4 separate regions of the Homo sapiens genome follow, and regions 1, 3 and 4 are each linked to region 2. The links are contacts of gene promoters, found by promoter capture Hi-C in blood cells and fetal thymus (Javierre and others, 2016). All regions are on one chromosome and are shown on one strand. The core of a region is centred on a gene start or on the middle of the fragment in contact, and the rest is flanking DNA. Distances in the headings are between cores, read along the strand shown.

The links. The method cuts DNA at HindIII sites, captures the fragments that hold promoters and counts their contacts. A CHiCAGO score of 5 or more calls a contact.
Region 1: a contact is called between a fragment that was not itself captured here and the fragment with the promoter of GCM2 in region 2, in 2 of 17 cell types (total B cells and naive B cells). The highest score is 6.7, in total B cells.
Region 3: a fragment that was not itself captured here is called in contact with the fragment with the promoter of GCM2 in region 2 in 2 of 17 cell types (naive B cells and total B cells); the score reaches 5.9 in naive B cells.
Region 4: a fragment that was not itself captured here is called in contact with the fragment with the promoter of GCM2 in region 2 in 1 of 17 cell types (erythroblasts); the score reaches 5.8 in erythroblasts.

The regions. Positions count from the first base shown.
Region 1 is chr6:10,376,731-10,383,138 of GRCh38, reverse strand. No RefSeq gene overlaps it. Among named protein-coding and RNA genes, the nearest start is that of TFAP2A-AS2, 25 kb to the left of the region's middle. The HindIII fragment of the contact is 4,608 bases long and covers 2,340-6,408 here.
Region 2 is chr6:10,880,220-10,886,575 of GRCh38, reverse strand. It overlaps GCM2 (glial cells missing transcription factor 2), which reads left to right and starts at 4,535. Exons shown (of 5, transcript NM_004752.4): 1 at 4,535-4,872. The coding sequence starts at 4,783. RefSeq lists an enhancer at 1-357 and a silencer at 4,346-4,640. The HindIII fragment of the contact is 9,517 bases long and covers 1-6,356 here.
Region 3 is chr6:10,506,241-10,512,689 of GRCh38, reverse strand. LOC101928146 (a long non-coding RNA gene) reads left to right here. Exons shown (of 3, transcript XR_001743961.2): 2 at 2,050-2,347; 3 at 3,387-4,030. Among named protein-coding and RNA genes, the nearest start is that of GCNT2, 12 kb to the left of the region's middle. The HindIII fragment of the contact is 514 bases long and covers 1,461-1,974 here.
Region 4 is chr6:10,470,126-10,476,023 of GRCh38, reverse strand. LINC02522 (long intergenic non-protein coding RNA 2522) reads left to right here. Exons shown (of 4, transcript NR_183333.1): 2 at 3,989-5,151; 3 at 5,294-5,795. Among named protein-coding and RNA genes, the nearest start is that of LINC02522, 8.9 kb to the left of the region's middle. The HindIII fragment of the contact is 2,650 bases long and covers 3,263-5,898 here.

The DNA.
Region 1 (6,408 bases), core at 3,394-5,893, 500 kb after region 2:
CTTTTTCTCTGAGCTCTTCCTTGTCCCTCTAATGCCGTTTCTCCTCTATTTCTGTCTATTCTCAACTTTACAGCCCATCTCTCCAGTGTATCTTTTTTTTCTCCCTCCCTTTCTCCGCCCCTCTCTCTGCCTTTATAAATATGCTAAAGAGGAAAACAACCTCGGCAATTCATGCTCGTAGCCACACGGAGAGTGGATCTGTTATGCGGGGATCAGGCGTGACCGCCTGTTATCCGCCAGGGCACCCCCGGCGCCCCCTTTCTTGCTGGGCTGCGGGGAAGACACGCGTGGGCCCCTATAGTGTCCTACGCATGGGGAGAAGCCAGTTTTCCCCACGCATCAAATCCTAACTTCAAACTTGAATCCATCTTGCTGCTCAAGAGTCAAGCTCGGTGGATTCATAATAGCAACGACAAAGAGTAATTACATATTAGAAAACAAAACAATAATTACACTACCAAGTTGACACACCAGTCAGCGAAGCACAGTCGCTTGGGCTGGAAACACCAAAGCCCGCGGCGCCCGCGGCTGACTCAGCAAATCGGAAAAGCCCCCAGCCCACGCCCACGCCGGTCCAAGCCGGACAGCTGATGCGCCCCTGCCCCTGCCGCAGTCACCTGCTAACAGGCCTTCGAAGTCTCCCTTAATAAGATGTGATTTGGGAGCTGTCTGGCAGAAAAGCATCTCACAAGTACCATAGAACCTGTTTCTTGGAGAGATGTTTTGTTTTTTAATCAAAATGGACACCCAGATTCTTGAGTTTGAACTCTTGTTTTACATATTCACATTTAGAATAGAAAAAGCTGGTCTTTCTGCATGTTCATTTCTCCCAGCACCTGTCACTCGGTTCCTGGTTACTTTATGGAGCCCTCAGGCAGGAGTCCTCGGGTTTCCTCTTTCTCCCCCTAAGAGTCAAGGCGGCAGGGGCGTTTTTTAACTTCCTAGGTGGGGATGGGGTTAGAGGGGAAGGAGGTTAGAGGCTGGTGATTGGCCTGGGTGATTGGGCTTGGGACCCAGCGAGAAGAGCGTGTCCCTAACCTAGGCCCCTCGCAATCGCTGCCACATCCCCGGTTCCTTTGGACTGGCGGTCGGGGAGGCTCCCTTTTCGGGCATTGTTCCCCCTGACCCCCTTCAGGGGCTCCAGCGCGTCCCCGGGGTCTTCCCAGGGCCCGGGCCTGGACGGTGGATTAGAGATGGGGACGGCTGGCGAGTGTCTGGGGGCGGCTGGCGAGTCTCTGGGGGCGACACCCGTCCGGACTGCGCAGCTCGCTGCTCACTGAGGCGGACTCCGCTTGCCGTCCCGGTGTGAAAGCAAACACATTCTGTTTGGGCCAGGAGCCCGCGGCTGGAAGATGCAACTGAGCTGGAAACACCAGGCCTCCGTCTGGGAAAGATTGAGCCGGAACCTCTATTCGGGCCTCTCCTCTCGCTTCCCCCAGGCCTGTCTTCCCAGGGTTGAAGCCCGCCCCAAAGGCAAGGTGGGTTGAGCGGAGGGCGCCAGTGCGCTTGTGCCAAGGGGGCGTCGAAGGACAAGAGCCTATCTTGGGACTGTGCCTCGAAAGGCGCTAGCAGGCCGCGCACCCTGGGCCTGGGAAAAAGCCCAGAGCGTCCTCTCAGGCCCCAGATAGGAGGAGTGCTCAGGCTCGGGGACCTGCCGCAGGCTGCCCTTAGCCGGCGATGCCATCTGCAGGCTGCGAAGTAATCGGATTTGGCCAAGAAGGGGAAAGGCCGCAGCGACCCACGGTGGGCACCTGGGCTTTGGGGAGGGTGGAAAGCCGGCGGGGACAGCCAGGAAAGCGCGCGGGGCCCAGCGCCCTCTAGGGCACACAAGCCCCTCGCTGGGTGGACGGCTCTCCTTTCATCCCCCAGGGCTTAGGGAAGGACAAAGGACCTATAAAAAAAATCTAACAACAAAAAAAATATCAGCTTGACCCCCAAAAGAACACTGTTTAATGAGGTGGAAAATTCTTCCACACAAATTGCTTTTTCTACTACTTTATGAGAGTTCATAAATGTTAATGAAATCCAGTTACCAAAAAGTAACATACATCATTGCAGCTGAAGGGAGGCAGAGGAAGGAAGGTGGTGGTTAACGTACAATCATAATTAAAATAACAGCAGCGGCAGCAACAATGCTGCCCATGGCTAATGTGGTTGGAGGCTCAGTCCAGAGCCGCACCATTGTATCCGATCTGGGTTGGCCACCGGTGTTTCCCTGGACAAGAACAACAGTGGCAGCAATGGCACAACGACAAATGTAGAAGTGCAGGAGCCGGTGGGTCAGAGTGGAAATAAAATCACAAAACGCTCCTGTTTCTTTTCTTTTGAAATAGAAAGCTTGTTACAGACTCAAACTTCTTCAAAATCTATGCAGAAAGAAGAGCCCAAGGCAATGCCTGGGAGAAGCGGAGGGGAGGGGCAAGCTCATTGTCCTCCACACCTGCCCTATATGTTTGCTTTTTCCTTCCTCTCTGCATATCAGAGGTACACTCCTATAGCAGGTGATCTTATTCTGACAGTTTTTTTTTTTTTTTTTTGAGACGAGAGTTTCACTCTGTTGCCCAGGCTGGAGTGCAGGGGCACGATCTTGGCTCACCGCAACCTCCACCTCCAAGGTTCAAGAGATTTTCCCGCCTCAGCCTCCTGAGTAGCTGGGATTACAGGTTACTGCCACCACGCCCAGCTAATTTTTGTATTTTTACTAGAGATGGGGTTTCACCGTGTTGGCCAGGCTGTTCTCAAACTCCTGACCTCAGGTGATCCACCCGCCTTGGCCTCCCAAAGTACTGGGATTACATGCATGAGCCACCACACCGGGCCTTCTTCTGACATTTCTATGCCCAGCACCCAGCCCAGAGTTGGCACATAGTAGGTGCTTAATAGGTGTGTATTGAATAAGTGAATGATTGAATGGAACAACAGCAGAAAATTACTCAATGAACAATCTCCTTGATAATATCTGAAGATGAATTAAGATGCTCAAGCACACGCCTGTAAACCCAGCACTTTGGGAGGCTGAGGCGGGCAGATCACGAGGTTAGGAGATCGAGACCATCCTGGCTAACATGGTGAAACCCCGTCTCTACTAAAAATACAAAAAATTAGCCGGGTGTGGTGGTGGGCGCCTGTAGTCCCAGCTACTCGGGAGGCTGAGGCAGGAGAATGGCGTGAACCCGGGAGGCGGAGCTTGCAGTGAGCCAAGATTGCGCCCCTGCACTCCAGCCTGGGAGACAGAGCGAGATTCCGTCTCTAAAAAAAAAAAAAAAAAAAAAAAAAAAAAAAAAAAAGATGCTCAAGCACTCAATATTTTCAATATTCACCAAACATTTTCTGATAACATACTATGTGTCAGGAACTGTTCCAGGCCCTGAGGATACAGTAAGCAAACAAAACAGACAGAAACCCATCTTCTTATGAAGCTAATATTTTGAATTGTCCTGTTTTGGCTGATGTATTATTTTACATGGCTGGGCAAATGGCCTCTTACCTAACTTTGGGAAAATGACTGTTACCCTCCAGATTCCTCTTTATGAAATGGAGTTGAGGAAAGGAGATGCGAAGTCTATTGATGAAAGTCATATAAAGAATATGGTTTTAAGGAAGATGTTTTATATTTCCTTAATGGGATCATTTCTCTATGTCTTTATTTGTTACGAGTCAAAAATATATATATTTTTTGTAAATAGCTAGGACAATTTGAATATTTTTCTTTTGCCCTTGAGAGCTGCTGGAATTGAATCATTTTAGCTTTGCACATATTGCTTAATATTTTATGTAATCTAAATACAAGTGCTTTCTTTCTTTTTTTTTTTTTTTTTTTTTTTTTTTTTTTGAGACGGAGTCTCCCTCTGTCACCCAGGCTGGAGTGCAACGGCACGATCTCGGCTCACTGCAACCTCCGCCTCCCGGGTTCAAGAGATTCTCCTGCTTCAGCCTCCTGAGTAGCTGGGATTACAGGCGCGCACCACCACTCCCGGCTACTTTTTGTATTTTTAATAGAGATGGGGTTTCACCATGTTGGTAAGGCAGGTCTCGAACTCCTGACATCGTGATCCACCTGCCTTGGCCTCCCAAAGTGCTGGGATTACAGGCGTGAGCCACCGCGCCCGGTCACAAGTACTTTCTTAACAAAATAGGGAATAAAAAAATAAATACAAGTACTAATACTAATAACTATTTTTTTTTTTTAGCTATTATCTTTTGCCAGTTACTGCACTCAGTGCCACATAGGCTTTACCTCATTTAAACTCTTGGCAACCCTTTGAGATACGTGCTGTTTTTCCTATCTTTATTTTTTAAATGAGGGAAACAAGGTTGAGAGCAGGTAAGTGTTGGGGCTTAGGCCACCAGTGAGTAATCGGCAGTGCCTCATCTGGAACTCAGGTATCTGTTACACTAGAATGAAGAGCCTACGACCCTAGGAGTTCCAGTCATTTGCCTTCAGCTTTCTTGTCTATAAAATGCAGTTAATACCCATCTAGTCTATATTGTTCACGGTGTGGTGAAATTAAAATTCCATTTATTTATGAAAACACTTTGCAAATGTTAGAATGCTGCATGAATATACTATTGTTTTTGTTGTTATTATTATTATATGCTGTTTCTTATCTGTAATTGTTAGTAGCTACAATAACCTACTCTGCAGCAGCAACCACTGAAATTGATTGAACTTTGGCTGAGTGATTGTTTTGGAACATGAGCGGTGATGGATCTGTTGAGAATGAGACAGAGAGACTCCTGGTTTAATGGAGGAAATACTGTTGGAGAAGATTTGGCTGTTCCCACTGAGTCTCCCTGCATCCTGTGGGATCTCAGGGTCTGGCAGGAGTGGGTTTCTGGCATCCCCCACCACCATCTTCTTTAGGGATATCCTTCCTCCTAATTGCAGGGTGCCCTGTTCTGCCTTGCCTGGACCATTAGCCCTGCTCTCGGCCATCACTCTAGGCAGCCAGTCCAGGCACAACAGTGAGAAAGGTTAAGTGTTCATTTTTGTAAGTAAACTTACAATGCTGCTTTGAGACAACATAATTACTACTTCCTACACCCTATTGTATCTGGTAGAGAAATGGTCACAAAGACATCAAACAAACATCAAATCTCTGTCACTGCCTCCTGCACCTGTTATCCTCCAAAAAGTGGGCAAGACTTTGTGGATGTTTGGAAACCTAGTGCCATTTCACAGTAGTCACTTGTCTGAGGCAACACCTGCAGATGCCTTTACTGTTTGAACCTCAGATCAGTTAGTCAAGGAATGAAGAGGCAGAGCTATTAAGAACATACTGGCTTCTGGATTGTGCCAATCAATCTTTATATTTCATTTATTCATCTGTTCATTCATTTATTCAATGCTTTTGAGCTCTTTTCTAGGAAGTAAAAAAAAATCCCATTGAGAATTTTATTGCCTGGTGGGAGGCAGACGAATACAAATATAATTACAGAACAGTGAAGTAAGTTCCAATAAAAGATTTATACACAGAGTAGGGCTGGACTGGTTACTCATTTTGATATACGGAATTAGGCCACAGCATGCATTCTCAACTGGGGTGATATTGTCTTCAAGAGGGCAAAAATTGGTTCCTGGGAGATGAAACAAATCTCAGATGTTACAATGGTCTGTGGTCCTTCAAACTAACCCTACCTGACAAAATGTAACTCCTTCGTATTCAATTTCTCTTGTTAGACTTTATATTGAGGGAGTGATAATAGTGAGAAATTGAGAACCACTGGGCTAGGTAGGAGAACTTGACTCACTAACTCAGGCTGAGTGTGCTTAAGACTACTAGTTAAGGCTGGGCGCAGTGGCTCACGCCTGTAATTCTAGCACTTTGGGAGGCTGAGGCGGGGGGATCACCTGAGGTGAGGGGTTCGAGACCAGTCTGGTTAACATGGTGAAACCTGGTCTCTACTAAAAATACAAAAATTAGACAGAAGTGGTCATGTATGCCTGTAATCCCAGCTACTCAGGAGGCTGAGGCAGAATTGCTGGAACCAGGGAGGCGGAGGCTGCAGTGAGCTGAGATCTCGCCACTGCACACCAGCCTGGGTGACAGCAAGACTCTGTCTCAAAAACAAACAAACAAACAAACAAATAAAAACCACTACTAGTTTAGCTATCATGGCTGACTTGCTCAGTTGGTTAAAAAGCAGCAACTGGCCTGGCGCGGTGGCTCACGCCTGTAATCCCAGCACTTTGGGAGGCCGAGGTGGGTGGATCACGAAGTCAGGAGATCGAGACCATCCTGGTTAACACAGTGAAACCCTGTCTCTACTAAAAATACAGAAAATTAGCCGGGCGTGGTGGCGGGCACCTGTAGTCCCAGCTCCTTGGGAGGCCGAGGCAGGAGAATGGCGTGAACCCAGGAGGCGGAGCTTGCAGTGAGCCGAGATCACGCCACTGCACTCCAGCCT
Region 2 (6,356 bases), core at 3,286-5,785:
CCGGGCGCGGTGCACGTGCCTGTAATCCTAGCTGTTGGGGAGGCTGAGGCAGGAGAATCACTTGAACCCGGGAGGCGGAGGTTGCAGTGAGCGGAGATCTCGCCACTGCACTCCAGCCTGGGGGACAGAGTGAGACTCCGTCTCAAAAAAAAAACAGCCAGAGGAGCAGTTTTTGGTCCATTGATGTGTGCAGACAGAAGCCGAACCCTTTCCTATGGTAACCAGACTTGTACCCGATATTATTAATACATTCCTGATTTCACACACACACAAAGTGTGTTTGGTGGTTGTTTTTTAAGTACCGTGGTGGGGAGGAAGGGGAATTTTTTTTTTTAATCAAAGCAAATAGTTTTGTTTTTGTTTTTGTTTTTTTGTTTCTTTGTTTGCCTATTTCCTTTAACCTGACAAGTATGCGTACCAATGGCTAGGCTGATTCGGATAGGTGGCCAGTTGTGTGAACACGGTGGCAAAATTAAATTGGACTAGAGTTTTCCACAAAAAACAAAAAAAAGACCCCTCCAATCCAAACATCCTTTGTGTAAAAATCAACTTGTATTATAACTAGACCTGTGAGTATTTCAAGTCATAATATGTACGGAAGATATTTGTCTACACCAAAGCAAAACATAACAAAACCAGAACCCCTGTTAGCCCAGGACTTGCACACATTTCTAGTCCGTTCAAAACAATGTTTATGTCAAAGCCTGTCATATCAATTTCCTGGAAAGTATAATGTAAACATTCTTACATTAATTTACCTATTTTAATCTAAACCAAGGAAATTCAAACGCAAGTTTTTTTCCTTTTCAATGAATGGACTTTTGTAATATTAAACTAGTAATCAAGACAGGAACAGCTGTGAGTATAAGCTATTGTGAGTCAATACAAATATAATACCAGGGCAAGAAAGAAACAATGAATAATAAGAAGCAATAAACAAAATACTACAGTTTAAATGAATTTTAAGAGAATATTTAAAAATTAGAGTTTTCATAATATTAGATAGAAAACTTAATCATCTATTATTTTCAGGCTTTGGGGGAAAACATGTCCTTCCAAAGTCTATGGTGCAATGCATTCAAATCTTTAAGAGAAATTAAAAATAACAGAATAGGCAAAATACCTTTTATCTGGTTTTTTTTTTACTTTGATTAGCTTCTTTTACTAACATGTTTTGTCTTAATATAATTTATGGCAACTTGAAATGCATACTCTAATTCTTCTCAAACTAAATATAGTAGAGGCTCTATGACATTTCTTTGGATACCAGAATCCCTTTAGAAATTAATTGATTTGCCTTTTACATAAAAAAGTTTTATTTATTTATGTTTTTGACGGGTCAGGTCTCTCTAGGAACATTCCAAAAGCACAGAGACAAGAACTATTCTAGCACTGCAATAAGACCAAAAATTAATTTCTATGCATTTTCAGAGGTAACTTTAAATCACCATTTTAAAGTTATTTTTAGAACATTTGAAAGGATAAGTTATCTTAGACTACAACATTTAATGAAATACTATAATTAAAATGGATAATCAATAAATTTTCATTCAATTTTGGAAGACAAAACAACACGAAAAGCAACTGAATCAACAGGAGTTTCGGGGACCTTTGGCAGACAGTTAATAAGATGAAAAATCTGTGAATGAAACTCGTGGGTGAAGAGTAGACAGATCTCTTCGTTCCCAGCTAGACCTCAGTGGCGACCATTTGAGAGTGATTTTAATCAGAAACCTTGACTGACAGGACCTTTTAGGAGGGGAGAACTTCGGGAGAAAGGAGGCTGGGAATGAACAAATCACTTTCTTCTGCTAGGACCCTTCGGCTTTGACTGGGAGGAGGACCCCAGCTAGAAGATAAAGGAGGAAAAAATCGCGAGGAACTGCTCGAAGTTGGCCTTTCTTCCCAACAGAGTTCGCTGGTCCGCTGCCACTGGCAGGCTTCTCTGACCGACTGGGATACTTTTTCTTTCTTCTTTCCTTTTCTTTTTTTTTTCTTTTTCTTTTCTTTCTCCTTCCTTGCTTCCTTCCTCTCTCTCTCTCTCTTTCTTTCTGTCTTTCTTTCCTTCCTTTTTTTTTTTTTTTTTTTTGAGACAGGGTCTCGTTCTGTCGCCCAGGCTCGGCGCTATCTCAGGTTACTGCAACCACTGCCTCCTGGATTCAAGCGATCCTCCCGCCTCAGCCTCCCAAGTAGCTGGGACTACAGGCACACGCCACCATGCCCGGCTTTTTTTTTTTTTTTTTTTTTCGAAGAGACAGGGTTTCGCCATGTTGCCCAGTCTGGTCTTGCACTCCTGGGCTCAAGCGATCCTCCCGTCTCGGCCTCCCAAAGTGCTGGGATTACAGGCATGAGCCACTGCGCCCAATCGCGGGATGGACTTTTCTAAGCAAGCCTCACTGTGCCTTTGGCGCGGGAAGTAAAAGGACAGGGAGCGTGGACCACCCTTAGCTTCCTGATGTGGTTTCGCTCTTCCTTTATCCGCCTTTTGCCAACCGAAGGCACTAATCCTGCAAGAGGCGTTGGCATGGGCGCCCTCCTGGCCGAGTCCCGGGCAGCACCCGTCCGTGCGCTCAGCACGGGCTTTGCGGTGCCAAGGCCTAGGGTGCGTCGCTTCCCGGGTCTGGAGGGTCATGGATTCGGTTCATCCTCCTCTATCAAGGGATCTGCCGTGAGGAGTTGGCTCCTCTTCTCTGGCTGGGGCTGGGAATGGAAGCGTGCAGCTGCAAAACAAGGACGCGGGCAATAAATTCCAGAAGCCCTTTCCCCTGGCCGCCAAGAATCCGGCCTTGGGGTAGTCAAAGAGTGACTTTAGTCACTTCAATCGGTTTTGTTTTGTTTTGTTTGTTTTTTGTTTTTTGTTTTTTTTATATATATATATACTGAGGGTCTCCATGTGCCGGAGTAGCCCTGGGCGAGTCGGCTGCTCAGATGATGAAGGTTTCGTCCCAGCCCCGGAGAACCCACATTGTCCTGCGCACCTCCGCACCACCGCGATTCTCTAGTCCTCCAAAGCCTCCCAAGACTGTAATGGAGTAAATTCAATTTCGTCGTGATATTTCCAAGACTATATCAGTGAAGTTTTTTTTTAAGAGTTGTGGGCCGGGCGCGGTGGCTCACGCCTTTAATCCCAGCACTTTGAGAGGCCGAGACAGGAGGATCACGAAGTCAAAAAATCGAGACCATCCTGGCCAACTTGGTAAAACCCTGTCTCTACTAACAATACAAAATTAGCTGGTCGCGATGGCGCGCCTGTAGTTCCAGCTACTCGGGAGGCTGAGGCAGGAGAATCGTTTGAACCTGGGAGGCGGAGGTTGCAGTGAGCCGAGATTGCGCCACTGCACTCCAGCCGGGAAGACAGAGTGAGACTCCGTCTCAAAAAAAAAAAAAAAAAAAAAGATTTGTGTTCGGGTGGGTGGCAACTGAGAGCTCGCCGAACCACAACCTCTTATTTAACAGATAAACAGATAAGGAAGCTGAGACCCAGAGGGAGCCAAAGCAGTGGAGAAAGCGAGTTCTTTGGGACTTTTCCCCTCTCCCCTTTCCCTCCTTCCCCAGGCTCCCACCTACCCCAGGCTCCCACCTACCCCGGGCTCATTTCCGCCCCCCACCTCCTCCAGGTTCACTTTGTAGGACTCCGTTCCTGCAGGGCCAGGTCCCTCCGAAGTCCCCGGGAGCGTGAAGGCGCCTGGGCTCGCGAGCATACGCGGAGGCTTGGCGCACCCTGGCACGTCCCAAACAGCAGAGCCAAGACTGCGAGACACTCACAATAGTTAGGGGAAGAGCCGGCAGTGGAGGCCCAAAATGGGCTGACCCCTAACTAGGAGGCGTGGGCGCGGTTATTCAGGCTAGGGCGCACGCGGACGGCAGAGGGGCCCACGCACGGTTCCCATGCTCTCCTGGAATTGAGTGTTGGCTCTCAGGGGACTTTGCTGGAAAGCCTCCATCTAAGCCCCTTTCCGAAATCAGGGAAGCTGGACGCGTTTAGAAAAAAGAAAAAAAATAGGCCGGTCGCGGTTGCTCACGCCTGTAATCCCAGCACTTTGGGAGGCCCAGGCGGGCAGATCGTCAGGAGTTCAAGACCAGCTTGGTCAGGGTTTCGCATGGCTAAAACCTGTCTCTACTAAAAATACAAAAATTAGCCAGGGTGGTGGCACGGACCTGTATTCCCAGCTACTCGGGAGGTTGAGGCAGGAGAATCGCTTGAACCTGGGAGGCAGAGGTTGCAGTTAGCTGAGATGGCGCCACTGCACTCTAGCCTGGGCAACAGAGTGAGACAAAAAAGAAGAAAAGAAAAGAAGAAAATAATAAGGTTTTAAACTTAAAGGATACATTCCTACTTACCCTCTCCACCCCCACCCTCTGGCTGCAGTTTCCATTTGCTTCCAGGGCTGAGTTTAACCTCCACCTCCGTTCCTGGGACTGTGGTGGAGGGGGCGACCGGCCCCTGGAGCGTGGGCGCTAGCGAGGTAGGCGAGACAGGGCGGAGCCCCCCGGAGGTATATCTTTATAAAGGAGGGGGCAGCTGCCAGAGGTCGATGCTGCCGTTCGGGTGGAGAACGTTCAGCACCGCGGCCAAGGACAAGGCCCCGCCCGGGTCCATAACCATTGTCCCCAGCTTCCAGATATCTAAACAGCCTCTCTCTCTTTCTCTCTCTCTGCACCTCCCCTTCACACACCCCACTTTCTTCTTTAAAGAGAAGAAAAAAAACCCACCTGGCGCACCTGTCCTTTTTTCTTCTATTTTTCAGAACCCTGGGCGGAAAGCGCGAGCGAGTTGGGCAGATGCCGGCGGCCGCGGTGCAGGAAGCGGTCGGCGTGTGCTCCTACGGGATGCAGCTCAGCTGGGACATCAACGATCCGCAGATGCCTCAGGTAAGTGAACCGGGTGTGTGCGGGCACGCGGGGCGCTGTCCATCCGAAGGAGGGAGAATGGCATTCGAGTTCTTGAAGAGTCTGCGGACGGACCATACACACACACACACACACACACACACACACACACACACACACACACACACACATACCCGCAAAATTTCTGGGTTTCTGAGGCCCTCTCAAGTGTAGAAAGAAAACTGGACTCTACAAAAGGCTGAGTTGGGTTTAGAAATGTGTCTTCTTGGCCGGGCGCTGTGGTTCATACCTGTAATCCCAGCACTTTGGGAGGCTGAGGCGGGTGGATCATCTGAGGTCGGGAGTTCAAGACCAGCCTGACCAACATGGAGAAACCCCGTCTCTACCAAAAATACAAAATCAGCCCAGCGTGGTGGCGCATGCCTAAAGTCGCAGCTACTCGGGAGGCTGAGGCAGGAGAATCGCTTGAACCCGAGAGGCAGAGGTTGCGGTGAGCCAAGATCACGCCATTGAACTCCAGCCTGGGCAACAAGAGCAAAACTCCATCTCAAAAAAAGAAGAAGAAGAAGAAGAAGAAATGTGTCTTCTCCCAGCAATTTCCTTGTGCTTGCCTGAAATCACAAGCAAAGCAGCAGGAAATGTTGGTCAGGCTCCACATTCCCAGTCTTGGGGAGAGCGGGACGCCTGTCCTTTCACTTCCCTTTAACCAAGGTAGAAATTAGGTGCCTCTCTCCTTATTCATTTACTTTAAATCCATGAGGAAGCTAAGGAGAAAATCTAAGCAGATGTAAATACCACTGCTTCTCATGCAGCAAAACTGAGGTACAACTGTAAAGTGAATCTAATGACCTAAATTTAAAACAAGTAGCCCGACTTGAGCAATTTGCTCAGACCTCCCTAACTGCTCAGAGGAAGGAGGCCCCATAGTCATGCCAACAAGGCCACCTGTACCCAAAACTTACTTCTTCTCTAATGACAAGCAAATCATCATTCTTTTAGGGTGAATTTGTTGTATTTTGCTTTATTTCAATAAAGCAAAAATGGTTTGGAGCCAAGTCCAAAGAATGACTGGGGTGGATGAAGTGGTGAATGAAGTGGGTGGTTTGAAGCCAGTTCCAGAGAATGACCAATTATCATTAGTCACACTGGTTAGGGCCAAAATTGAGTGATGTTGAAGTCCTGGCTGTAGGGGGTGGGGGGTGTAGAATGAGAGTTGCTTCCCTGCCATTTGCAGATGTGGGCTTCCAGCAATGTTGTGGCACAGGGATAAAAGAGATGGGTCATTTTGTCCGCAACTAAAATGTGTCTGATAGGTGTTCAGATGAATAACAATTCATTGCAACATTGTGTCGCCTCTCATAGAGGTCAGCACTTTTTTGGATCCATATATTTGTAGTAGGTTAGGTGTGTTTTACTCCTTTGTTTTTGTTTGTTTGTTGGGGTTTTTTGTTGTTGTTTGTTTGTTTTTTGAGGCGGGGTTTAGCTCTTGTTGCCTAGGCTGGGGT
Region 3 (6,449 bases), core at 468-2,967, 370 kb after region 2:
GGCCGAGGCAGGCAGATCACCTGAGATTGGGAGTTCGATACCAGCCTGACCAACATGGAGAAACACCATCTCTACCAAAAATACAAAATTAGCTGGGCATGATGGCACATGCCTGTAATCCCAGCTACTAGGGAGGCTGAGGCAGGAGAATCGCTTGAACTCGGGAGGTGGAAGTTGCAGTGAGCCAAGATCACACCATTGCACTCCAGCCTGGGCAACAAGAGTGAAACTCCGTCTCAAAAAAAATAAAATAAAATAAAAAAATAAAAATCGTTTTTTTGTAGAGACGGGGTATCACTATGTTGCCCAGGCTGGTCTTGAACCCCTGGGCTCAAGGGACCCTCCTTCCTTGACCCCCCAAAGGGATTATAGGCATGAGCCACTGTGCCTAGCCTCAAGCTTATCTCTTCTCACTGCATAGGCCATCTACCTGGAATATTCTCTCCCCCTGCCTTGTCTTGAGTTCCTACTCATCTTTCAGGTCCCTATGTGACACTGCTTCCCTGGTGACCCTTCCTTGCTCTTCCAAGTCTGGGTTAGAAGCCCTTCACCTGCCCTAATAAAACCTTGTACTCCTACAATTGCTTGTTTGTTTGCTCTACCACTAGTCCATGGAGGACTATTTATTTTTAAAACAAAAAGTTAATATTTTATTTTTAAATGTATGATTTACAGGTGGTAATTATACGTATTTATGGGATGCAGCATGATGTTCCAATACATGTATACATTGTGTAATGATCAAATCATGGTAATTAGCATATCCATCACCTTAGACATTTATTGTTTGTTATCAGAACATTCAAAAACTGCTCTTCCAGGTATTTTGAAATATACAATGCATTATTATTAACTGTAATCCTCCTCCTATGCAGTAGAACTCCAGAGCTTATTCTTCCTCTCTATCTATAGCTTGGCACCTGTTGATCCATCTCTCATCACCCCCCTGCTCCTTTCCCTTCCCATTCTCTGGTAACCACTGTTCTATTCTCTACTTCTATGTGGATTCCACATGAGTGAGATCATGCAATATTTGTCTCTCTGTGCCTGGCTTATTTCACTCAACATAATGTCCCATGGAGAACTATTTCGGTCTGCTGGTCACTGCACTTTCAACACCTTGCTTATGGTAGGCACTCACCGAATTAAGTTTAGCCACCCTTCTTTCCTCTATACCAGAGATCAGCAAAACCACAGCTGGGGGGGTCCAGTCTGGCTCGCTGCATGTTTTTAGACAATCTCTCAGCTAGAATGGTTTTATATTTTAAAATGGTTGGGAGAAAATCCAAAGAAGAAAAATGTTTTGTGACACATGAAAATTATATGAAATTCAAATTTCGGTGTCCATAAATACAATTTTATTGGAACACAGCCGTCCTCATTTGTTTACACAGGGCCTATGGCTGCTTTCACGTTACAATGGCAGGGCTAAGTTGTTGCCACATCTGACCACCGAAGCTTAAAATGTTTTCCATCTGGCCTTTACCAGAGAAGGTTTGCTGACCCTCTCCTCTGTATCTACGGATGTCCCTTGTATACCACTGTGCTTGCACTACATCAAGACAGCGATTGTGGACTTGATACCATTTTACAACTTTTTGCTTTATTTTCAAGATTTCCTCGTGAATGCCAGAATGACACGATATTTGGTAGCAAAGCATGAGCTTCAAAGAGAGGTTTGCGTGGGTCTAGATCCTGGCTTTGCTAGTTCCTAGTTGTGTGACGTTGGGCAAATCACTTTTCCTATCTGTCTTAATTTCTTTGTCAGTAAAATAAAGATAATACCAGTAGGGCTGTTTTGTGAGTTGATGTGTTAATAAGTAGAATGCACTCTGAGCAGTATTCACGCATAGTGAACACTCTGAAATGCTAGCTATTCTCACTGCACACGATCGCTTCTAGGGGCTACCTGTACCGCCAGTGAACTGGAAACTCACCCCACTGCACTTTGCCTGACACCGAGTGGCCCAAGCTTTGGCGAGAGGCAGTGCTGCCACACAGTGGCTCTATATGGGGTGGCTTGGCACACTCTTCCTTTTTTTTTTTTAGGTGATTGCAAATCTATGGATGAGACCAAGGGAGAATTTTCACGCCATCATAGCATTTTATTCCTCACCTGACTGGGAGCAGCTCGAAGGGAAGGACATGTCTCCAAAGACATGAGGAGTATTCAACGTGGCATTCGAGGCGCAAGGAAAAACCTGCCTATCCCAAGATCTCAGCCCCATCAGCCAGCCAAGGGATCCACAATGACCCTTATGAAGTTTCATAAGGAAGCTAATTGCTTAAATGAGATTTGAGTCAAGAAGGATGACCTAGCAATAACCTCTATATATCTCATTATGCCGTAAGTAACCAATAGAGGTTCTAGAAAATGCCATCCAATAGAGGTTCTGGAAAAATGGGACAAGAGACAGGTTAGATTAGATGGAAGAAAAGGCCTTCCATCTAAGCAAGGCCTGGCATGTGGAATGCTAGTGGGGGCCCTCTGGACTGTGCTGGCAGGGCAGGTAAAGCAGCCAGGAGAGAATGTGAAAGTGGAAAGATGCCCCGGGGTGACGTGCCATCACTTAGATTTTATTTATTTATTTAGAGACGAAGTCTCCCTCTGTCACCCAGGCTGGAGTGCAGTGGCGCGATCTTGGCTCACTGCAACTTCTGCCTCCCAGGCTCAAGCGATTTTCTTGCCTCAGCCTCCCAAGTAGCTGGGACTACAGGTGTGTGCCACCATGCATAGCTAATTTTTGCACTTTTAGTAGAGACAGGGTTTCACCATGTTGGCCAGGCTGGTCTCGAACTTCTGACCTCAGGAGATCTGCCCAACTCAGCCTCCCAAAATGATGGGATTACAGGCGTGAGCCACTGCACCCAACCAGGTTATTTTCAGAATTAGAGATGAATCTTAAAAATCAAAATTTCCCCAGTGTCCCAGACACATTCAAAGCAAAATTACATAGAGGTTCGGCATCCCTAGTCTGAAAATCTGAGATCTGAAATGCTCCAAAATCCAAAACTTTTTGAGAGTTAATGTGGCACCATCAGTGGAAAATTCCACACCTGACTTCATGTGATGGGTCTCAGTCGAACAGCAGCCAAAACTTTGCTTCTTGGACACAATTATTTAAAATAGTGTATAAAATTATCTCCAGGCTATGTGCATAAGGTGTATATGAAATATAAATGAATTTCATGTTCAGACTTGGGTCCCATCCCCAAGACATCTCATTATGTATATGCAAATTTTCCAACCTAGAAAAAACTTGAAATTCAGAACACTTCTGGTCCCAAGCGTTTTGGATATGGGATACTCAACCTGTAGTTTCATTTTAATTATTTTGATGTAACTTAACTGAGCATCAAATTTTAAATTTTTTTTTTTTAATTAGAAAACTTAAATGGCTACATAAGAGGACAGTCCAGTGACAGACATGGAAAGAGGCTTAGAGGTCATCTCATTCATCACACCATTTTACAGAGGAAAGCAAAATGCCATCCAGAGAAGGAAAGTCACAAAGCCATCTAACCCCAGACCTGGGAGTAGCAGCTGATCACAGCGGGTCGGACACAAGAAGCTGCTTCCAAAAATCTTTCCTTCCATTTGTCCTACAGAGAAGACATCAGAAAACAAAATTTTATAAGCATGTCTCTAGCTCTAACTCACTATTCAACTAAAGGACAAATTAAATAGGGAATGAGATAACCTTAACTTCATGAGATTTGTTCTTATATGCAGTTTTCTACCCTGAGAAACCAATCTATGCTAAAGATAATATTTGTGCTTTTCAATGAGGCTGGTAAAATATTTGCACTTTGAAGCTCAGAGCGATAACATTTATTCATTCGGGTGAAACTTATCAGGATTAGGTAAATATAATCGAAGCAAAACAAAAATGATTTGGGAAACTTTGTGACCAAAACCAACAGGCGTATTCAGTACTCCTTTGAAGGTCACCTAATTCTAATAACATTTATATTTATAAATGTCCTCTAAGTCTTTTATCTTCTGCAAATAAATTATTTCTCACAATTACAGGTTAGTCCAATACATCAGCCTATTTTCAGAGTCCAGAGTTCTAACCATTACACGATGGAACCAGCCTATTTTCAAGCACATACTCAGTGTCTCCAGGATGAGGACACATTGTGGGGCTTTTCACAACTTCTCTCTCCCATCACCTGCCCCTCTCCTTCCATATTTAATATATTGTTGCATTTCTGTCAAATTAGCTGGAAGAGTAGTGTTTAATCAGGTGTACACACTGCCACAGTAACCTGGAAACTTCAAATTCTACCCCTAATCACTAATGTTGAAGACTTGCTAAAACAGGTTTTTTTGTTTGTTTGTTTTGCTTTTTGAGACGGAGTCTAGCTCTGTTGCCCAGGCTGGAGTGCTGTGGTGCAATTATCAGCTCACTGCAACCTCTGCCTCCTGGGTTCAAACAATTCTCCTGCCTCAGCCTCCCGAGTAGTTGGGATTACAGACATGTGCCACGATGCCCAGCTAATTGCTTGTATTTTTAGTAGAGATGGGGTTTCATCATGTTGGCCAGGCTGGTCTCAAACTCCTGACCTCAAGTGATCCTCCTGCCTCGGCCTCCCAAAGCGCTGGGATTACAGGCATGAGCCACCGCGCCCACCTAAAGTTTTAAAAATTGTGTAAATAACACCTACCATAAAATTTACCATCTGAACCACCTTTGAGTGTGCAATATAGTGTTAACTATATTGCATATTGTTGTATGACAGATGTCTAGAACTTTCTCACCTTTGCAAAGTTGAAACTTCATACCCATCAAAGAACAACTCTCCATTTCCTCTCCCCCCAACTCCTGGCAACCACATTCTGCTTTTTGTTTTCATGAGTTTGATTACTTTAAATACCCCATGTTCGTGAAATCATGCAATATTTTTCTTTTTGTGACTGGCTAATTTCACTTAGCATAATGTTTGCTAATCATCTTTGACATGCACTGGTCTACCCAACAAACATGAGCTGAGGGCCTAGTGCTGGCTAACATTGCCAGGAATAGCTGTCATACTAGAAAAATCTACTTGTAAAATGGTAAAAATAGCAGTATGGATTTGTAGAGGGTTTTCACACATACTATGTCATCATCATTTAAAGCAGGGTTGCTCACCCTTGGCACTATCAATATTTTAGACCAGATAATTGTCTGTGGTGGGGCCTGTCCTGTTCATTGTTGCACGTTTAGCAGCATACGTGGCGTCTACCCACTAGATGCTAGTAGCATCCTCCCCCTCCCACTGTGACAACCAAAAACGTCTCCACGCACTGCTAAATGTCCCCTGTGGGGCAACCTTGGACGAATAAGCTACCTTCCAAAAGAAGTAAAATGCAGCTAACAAAACTTTATGAGGTTTGTATAATGACTTGTAATAGCAGGGCATGATGACATGCACCTGTAGTACCAGCTACTGGGGAGGCTGAGGCGGGAGAATTACTGGAGCCCAGGAGTTCAAGGCTGCAGTGCATTGTGATCCAGCCTGTGAATAGCCACTGTACTCCAGCCTGGGCAACATAGCAAGATCTGCTCTCTAAAGAGCAAAACAAACAAAAACAGTGTATGATGCTACCTGGCACATAACAGGCACTTAATAATAAGAGCTGTTATTATTTAATAACATCATATAAAATATATGAAATTGAGTAGCTGGATATTGAGTATAACCCATTAATGGGACGTTGAACAATAGAGGTTCACTGGATAGGAACTGGAATATTTTTATTCGAAATCTGGCTCTACCTCTAAGTAGATGTGTGATGTTGGCAAAATCACTGAGTCTCTTTGGGTCTCAGCTCTACCAACTATTAAGGGAGATTACATAAACTTGCCCTGTGTATTTTATAAGGTTATAATGATATTAAAAGTTATATAATAAAAGGAAGGTACTCTGAAAGTAGGAACTTGTTACACACGCAAGCCACTGTTATGATGCAAATTTTCTGTAACGACTTTATTGAAACTTAATTCATACACCATACAATTCTCCCTTTTGAAATGTACAGTTCAGTGGTTTTCAGTATATTCACACAAGGTTGTGCAACCATCATCTCTATCTAATTCCACAATATTTGTATTATCCCAAAAGAAACCATCCAACCATTACATCCCTGCCCCAACTCCCTGGGTCCCTGAGAGCTGCTAATCTACCTTCTGATTCTAAAGTCTTTCCTATTCTGAACATTTGACAACTAGAATATGGTATAAATTTTAATAGTTCCCTTCACAGTACTGTAACAGTCTAAGCTGTCTCACATTCTTTTTGGAAGAGAAGAGGTGTGTTTGTTTTATTAGAATAAACAATAGTGTTCTTTTTGTCAAGAATATTATATATGCATATAGTTAAAATTACATATATAGTTTATATATATATATATATATATATATTTTTTTTTTTTTTTTTTTTTTTGAGACAGAGTCTCGCTC
Region 4 (5,898 bases), core at 3,338-5,837, 410 kb after region 2:
ATCACTTCAGTCTCTGCCTCTGCCTTCACATGGTCTTCCCCCTGTTCTCCATTATCTATCTATGTGTCTCCTATAAAAACACTTGTCACTGGATTTAGGGCCCACCCATATAATCCAGGATGATCTCATCTCAAGATCCTTAATTCTGAAAAGACCATTTTCCCAAATAAGGTCACCTTCACAGGTTTTAGGGATTAGGATGTGGACATTTCTTTTGGGTTTGCAGGGGGTGGGGTGGAGGGCACCAAACTCACTATGTCATCTTAGTTCCAAATGTACACCATCTCCTGGGGTCTTTACTCGGGGGTTAAATCCTATATCTTTGGCCAGGGCTCTCCAGTCAGTAGACTCTCCCCCATCCACATTTATGTTCTGGCCCCCTTGACCAAGTACCCCAAGAATCCAGTCTTATTCATACCCCCTGACACTTTTGGTACCTGTTAGCTGGGTCATCAGCTCTCTTTGAGTTTAAGCCCTTTCTTCCCTTATAAGGCCCAGTGCAACCTCAGCTGGGTGATGCTGGAATTTAAACCTATACTAGTATCCGGGAAAGAAGCTGGGGCTCATCCTGGGTGGAGGGCACAAGTGTCTTGAAGGGAAGAGGCCTCTGCATTGTCTTCAAGCAATGGGGCCGGGGGTGGGCTGGCTCTTGCTATGGAGGGATAGCCCACATTTGTGGGGTTGGAGGGTCTAGAGGAAACTAGAATTTCAAGGGGTAGGGCATCAACACAGATGTTTGCATCCTGTATTTCACAGTCCTGTTCTTCCCCAATCAGGGCCCTGAACTTGACACAGCAGATCTGGCATGGTTGGGAGTGTCACCTTCTTTGGTCTCAGATGATTAATTCTTAGCCCTGGTCCTCAGCTTTCTCTGGCCTCCCAATGCAAAAGAGAGTTTCTCTGTACACTTCCAAAGAGGTTCTCTGGCATTCATACTCAGATTTCAATTGCTTGGTAATTGCTTTCAACCTTTTGTTATCTTTTTCTAGAGTAAAAGGAGCTTAACTATATGGCCGTTCTCCAGGTTGCTGCTCTAAGCAACAGGGGCTGATTCCACCAGCACCTCTAAGAAGTGTACAGAATTCCTCCCAGCATTTGGGAGCTGGGGCACTTGTCATTGGCTCTCATCCTCTATCATGGGAAGATTGCCACCAGATGCATTAATTCCATGCATCTGGTGCACCATGGTGCACTTCGGAGGCTCGCATGATTTGGAGAAGGCAGAAAAGCAGAGTTGTAGAGCATAGGCTTGAGGCAAGCAGGCAGCTGAGCTCTCATGGAACTGTCTACCATAGCAGCAGCTGAAATTAGAGGCAAGCCCAGGGGCAGGAGGCAGTGTACCAGAATCTGCTGCTACTGCATGCACATTTCCAACTATTTTATCAATGTCAAATTTTAAACTTTTTATATCCACTTGTGTTCCTTTCCAGAGTTCAAACATTGAATTAGTTGTGCAATGGAAGGAGTATTACCAGGACCCAGATGCAGCCCAAGGAAAAAAGAAAACAAAAGGAGACACACACAGTAAGTGGTGTCTCATTGTGATTTGGATTTGCATTTCCCTAGTGATTAGTGATGGGAAACATATTTTCATGTGTTATTGGTCATTTGTTTATCTTCTTTGGAGAAATATTTATTCAAGTCCTCTGCTCTCTTTTTTTTTTTTTTTTTTAGTCAGAGTCTCGCTGTATTAGTCTGCTCTCACACTGCTCATAAAGACATACCTGAAGCTGGGTAATTCATAAAAGAAAGGTTTAATTGACTCACAGTTCCACATTGCTAGGGAGGCAAAGGAGGAGCAAAGTCACATCTTAAATGGCAGCAGGCAAGAAAGTGTGTGCAGGGGAACTTCCCTTTATAAAACCATCACATCTTGTGAGATATCCACTATCACAAGAACAGCACAGGAAAGACCTGCCTCTATGATTAAGTTACCTCCCACTGGTTCCCTCATGACACATGGGAATTATGGGAACTACAATTTAAGATGAGATTTGGGTAGGGACACAGCCAAGCTATATCACTTGCTGTGTTGCCTACGCTGGTCTCCAACTCCTGGGCTCAAGTGATCCTCCCACATTGGCCTCCCAGTAGCTGGGACTACAAGCTTGAGCCACTGCACCTCCTTTGCACATTTTTAAATCAGATAGTTTTGTTTTTGTTGTTGTTGAGTTGTAGGAGCTATTTATGTATTCTGGATATTAACACCTTATCAGATGTATGATTTGCAAACATTTTTTCCCCATTCCATTGGTTGCCTTTTCACTCTGTTGATTGTGTCCTTTGATGCCGAGAAGTTTCTAAGTTTAATGTAGTATAATTTATCTATTTTATGGCTGGGCCTGGTGGCTCACACCCGTAATCCCAGCACTTTGGGAGGTTGAGGTGGGTGGATTGCTTGAGCCTAAGAGTTTGAGACCAGCCTGGGCAACATGGCAAAACCTTGCCTCTACTAAAACACAGAAAAATTAGCCAGGTGTGGTGGCATGCATCTGTGATCCCAGTTATTCGACAAGCTGAGATGAGAGGATTGCTTAAGCCTGGCAGGTTAAGGCTGCAGTGAGCCATAATTATGGCAATGCACTCCAGTCTGGGTGACAGAGCAAGACCCTGTCTCAAACAAACAAAACATTTATCTATTTTATTTTTGTGGCTTGTGCTCTTGGTAACACAACCAAGAAATCATTGTCAAATCCAATGTCATTGTAAAGCTTTCCCTCTATGTTTTCTTCTAGAAATTTTATAGTTTAGGCCTTACATTTAGGTCTTTGATCTATTTTATGTTAATTGTTACAAACGGTGTAAGGTAAGGGTCCCACTTTCTTCTTCTGCATGTGGACATTCATGTTTTCCCAATATTATTTGTTGAAAAGACCCCTTTCTCCATTGAATGGTCTCAACACCCATGTAAAAAGTCATTCAATCATATAGGCAAGGGTTTACTTCTGGGCTTTCTCTTCTATTCCATTGGTCTATGTGTCTGTTTTTATGCCAGTACCACACTGTTTTGATTATTGTTACCATATATGACTGTCTAAAAAATTTTATGTATGTATAAAAATTTTTATGTATACATAAAATTTATACATACATAAAATTTTTTTTGAGACAGTCTTGCTCTGTTGCCCAGGCTGGAGTGCAGTGGCACAATCTAGGCTCAGCTCACTGCAACCTGCGCTTCCTGGCAAGCGATTCTCGTCTTGTAATATATTTTGAAATCAGGAAGTGTGATGCCTCCAGCTTTGTCCTTCTTTCTCAAGCTTATTTTGGCTATCCAGGGTCCCTTGAGAGTCCACATAAATTTTAGGATAAATTTTTAATTGGATTTTTTAATAGGGATTACATTGTTTGCTTAATGTAATCATAATGCATATGATTTTCTTATGCCCCCAACAAATATGAAATCATAGTCATAATCATTTGCTAAATGATTACATTAAGATTGTTTTGGGTAGTGTTGACATTTTAACAAAACTAAGTCTTCCAATCATGAGCACAGATGTCATTCCATTTATTTGTGTCTTCTTTAAGTGCTTTCAGCAATGTTTTAAAGTTTTAGCGTACAGTCTTTTGTCTTCTTGGTTAAGTTTATTTCCAAGTATTTTATTCTTTTTGATACTATTGTAAATGAAATTGCTTTTGTAATTCCCTGCAGCCTCTTTCATGCTCTGAGCAGAACTGCATTGCATACAATCAATCACCTACACTCACAGGCAAGAATGTACTACTATTGTAATAATGTAAATTTTTCTAAAATCACAAAATGGAAAATGCATCTTATTTGCTTTTAACGTTTTAGCAGATGATGTGGTCAAGTAAATAAATAAAAGGAGAGAAAGAGAAGTTCTGTGTGTGTGTGTGTGTGTGTGTGTGTGTGTGTGTGTGTGTGTCTGTCTGTCTAAGATCCTTTTGTTGTTTGCTTTGGCCTAGTTTCTTATGCTTTGAGGAAAAGCTCATTCTCATTCATGTGACTTGCTTTGGCTAATAGGACACCAGAGCATGATGCAAGTGTGGCTTAATCGGTGCTTGCACATTGGGCTTGTTCTTTCCAAACCTGTTGCCCCGATTCTGCAAGGCTATCCTGCTGTAGAAGGAGGCCCTGGAGGACAAGACACCATGTGGGGAAAACAGCCATGGGGAGCAGAACCGAGGTATCCCAGCTTAGCTCCCAACTGACAGCAGCCACATGAGTGAGCAGAAAAACAACTTCCAAGGGTGATTTAGCTACTGCTGCTGTGGAATGTCAAAACTTTCAGCAAGGGAGCCCGATGCAGATCTGTTGATATGACACCATTCCACAAGAAGACCAACTGATGGCTTTGTGGCAAGTTGACTACACTGGGCTGTTTCTATTCTGGGAAGACAGAGATTTGTTCTAAGAGGAATAGGCATGTGTTGCAGGCATAGGTTGACCTTTCCTGCCATGGAGCCTCCTCTGGTACCACTATTTGAAGGTTGAAGGAATGTTGATTCACCAGGATTGAGTCAGACCAGCCAAGCCTATGACCATGATGTCAACTGACTGTATCACCTGTCACATCATCCAGAAGCTACAGACTTATAAGGCATTGGAATAACTTGTAGATGGCCCCGTTAAAGTACCAGCTTAGAGGCAACACTCCATGAGAATGAGACATCATCTCCAGGATGGCACATACACATTGAATCACACAGCATTGATAAGGAGATGGCTCCCCAGTAGGAAGAATATATTGGTCATGAACCAAGGGATGAAGCAGAAGTGTCTTGCTTCCTGTCCCTGCAGCCTCTCTTTCTGCAGTGCTAGAAATCCTGGTCAAAAGGGGGCATAATTTTATCAGGGGACACAGCAAAAGTCTCCACTACATTGCAGCTATGCCTGCTGCCTGGGGATTTTGGGCTTCTTATAATTGGGACCAGCAATAAAAGAGAAGAGTCACAGTCTTGGCAGGGCTAATTGACCCTGATCAGCAGGAGAAGAAAGGCTGTGGTTCCACTATGAGGGTAGGGAAGACGTGTGGCACCACTGATCCACTTTTGCAACCCATGGTACTCCCGTGGCCAGTTGTGATGACAGACAAGTGCAGGAACACTTTTGGGAAGGGCATGGTGGCCAGAGTTCAGACCCCATGGGAATGAGGACCAGGGTCACACCACTGGATAAGCCAGGAGGTAAGCTGCAGAGGTGAGGGGGAATCTAGACTGGGGATTAGGGGAGGAAAATGAAAAGTATCAGTCATTGCCCTGAGACCAGCTGCAGCAGCAGGTGTTGTAGCTTGTGCTTCTAAGCCATCTACTTTTACATTTCCTCCAGGAAGAGAGGCCCACTGGAAGGCTGGAGGAGCTGCTCCCCAGATGTAGATGAAGTAGATTTGAGCAGCACAGTGGTGGACCTAGTAGAGGCGGACATCAAGATCCTCTTCAAGGAAAGATTATCAATATAGTTTTCCCTGACCCAGGTGCCATGTGTTTTCTGTCATATTCACGTATGCTAATACATAATTGTGCAAGTGGGGTAATATCTGGGACACTTCATGGTTCATATCAAAACACAGAGTGAAGAGAACATCCTCTGGGCCATCTCAGAGTGTGAGTTTGGGGCGGGGGTGGCTCCTGGTTAACATTTCTGTCCACTGCAGCATTCCTTTTCCCTTTTGCTTTTAGATTCTTCCCTTGACATCACACCAGGAAAGTCTGACAACTTAACTTTATTGGATATAGGCAACCGTTGAATCCAAGTTTTGCCCACTGAATCCATCAAATTGTTACAGCCAATTCTAGATGCCTGAGTGGACACATGAAATCCAGATTCCCCAGTAAGCGCATCCCCATTAATAAACTGACCAAATGCAATGTTAATCTGTTCTATAACCTTTAGAATCCATCCCAACATATATTTTTTAGGTTCCTGCCAAGATA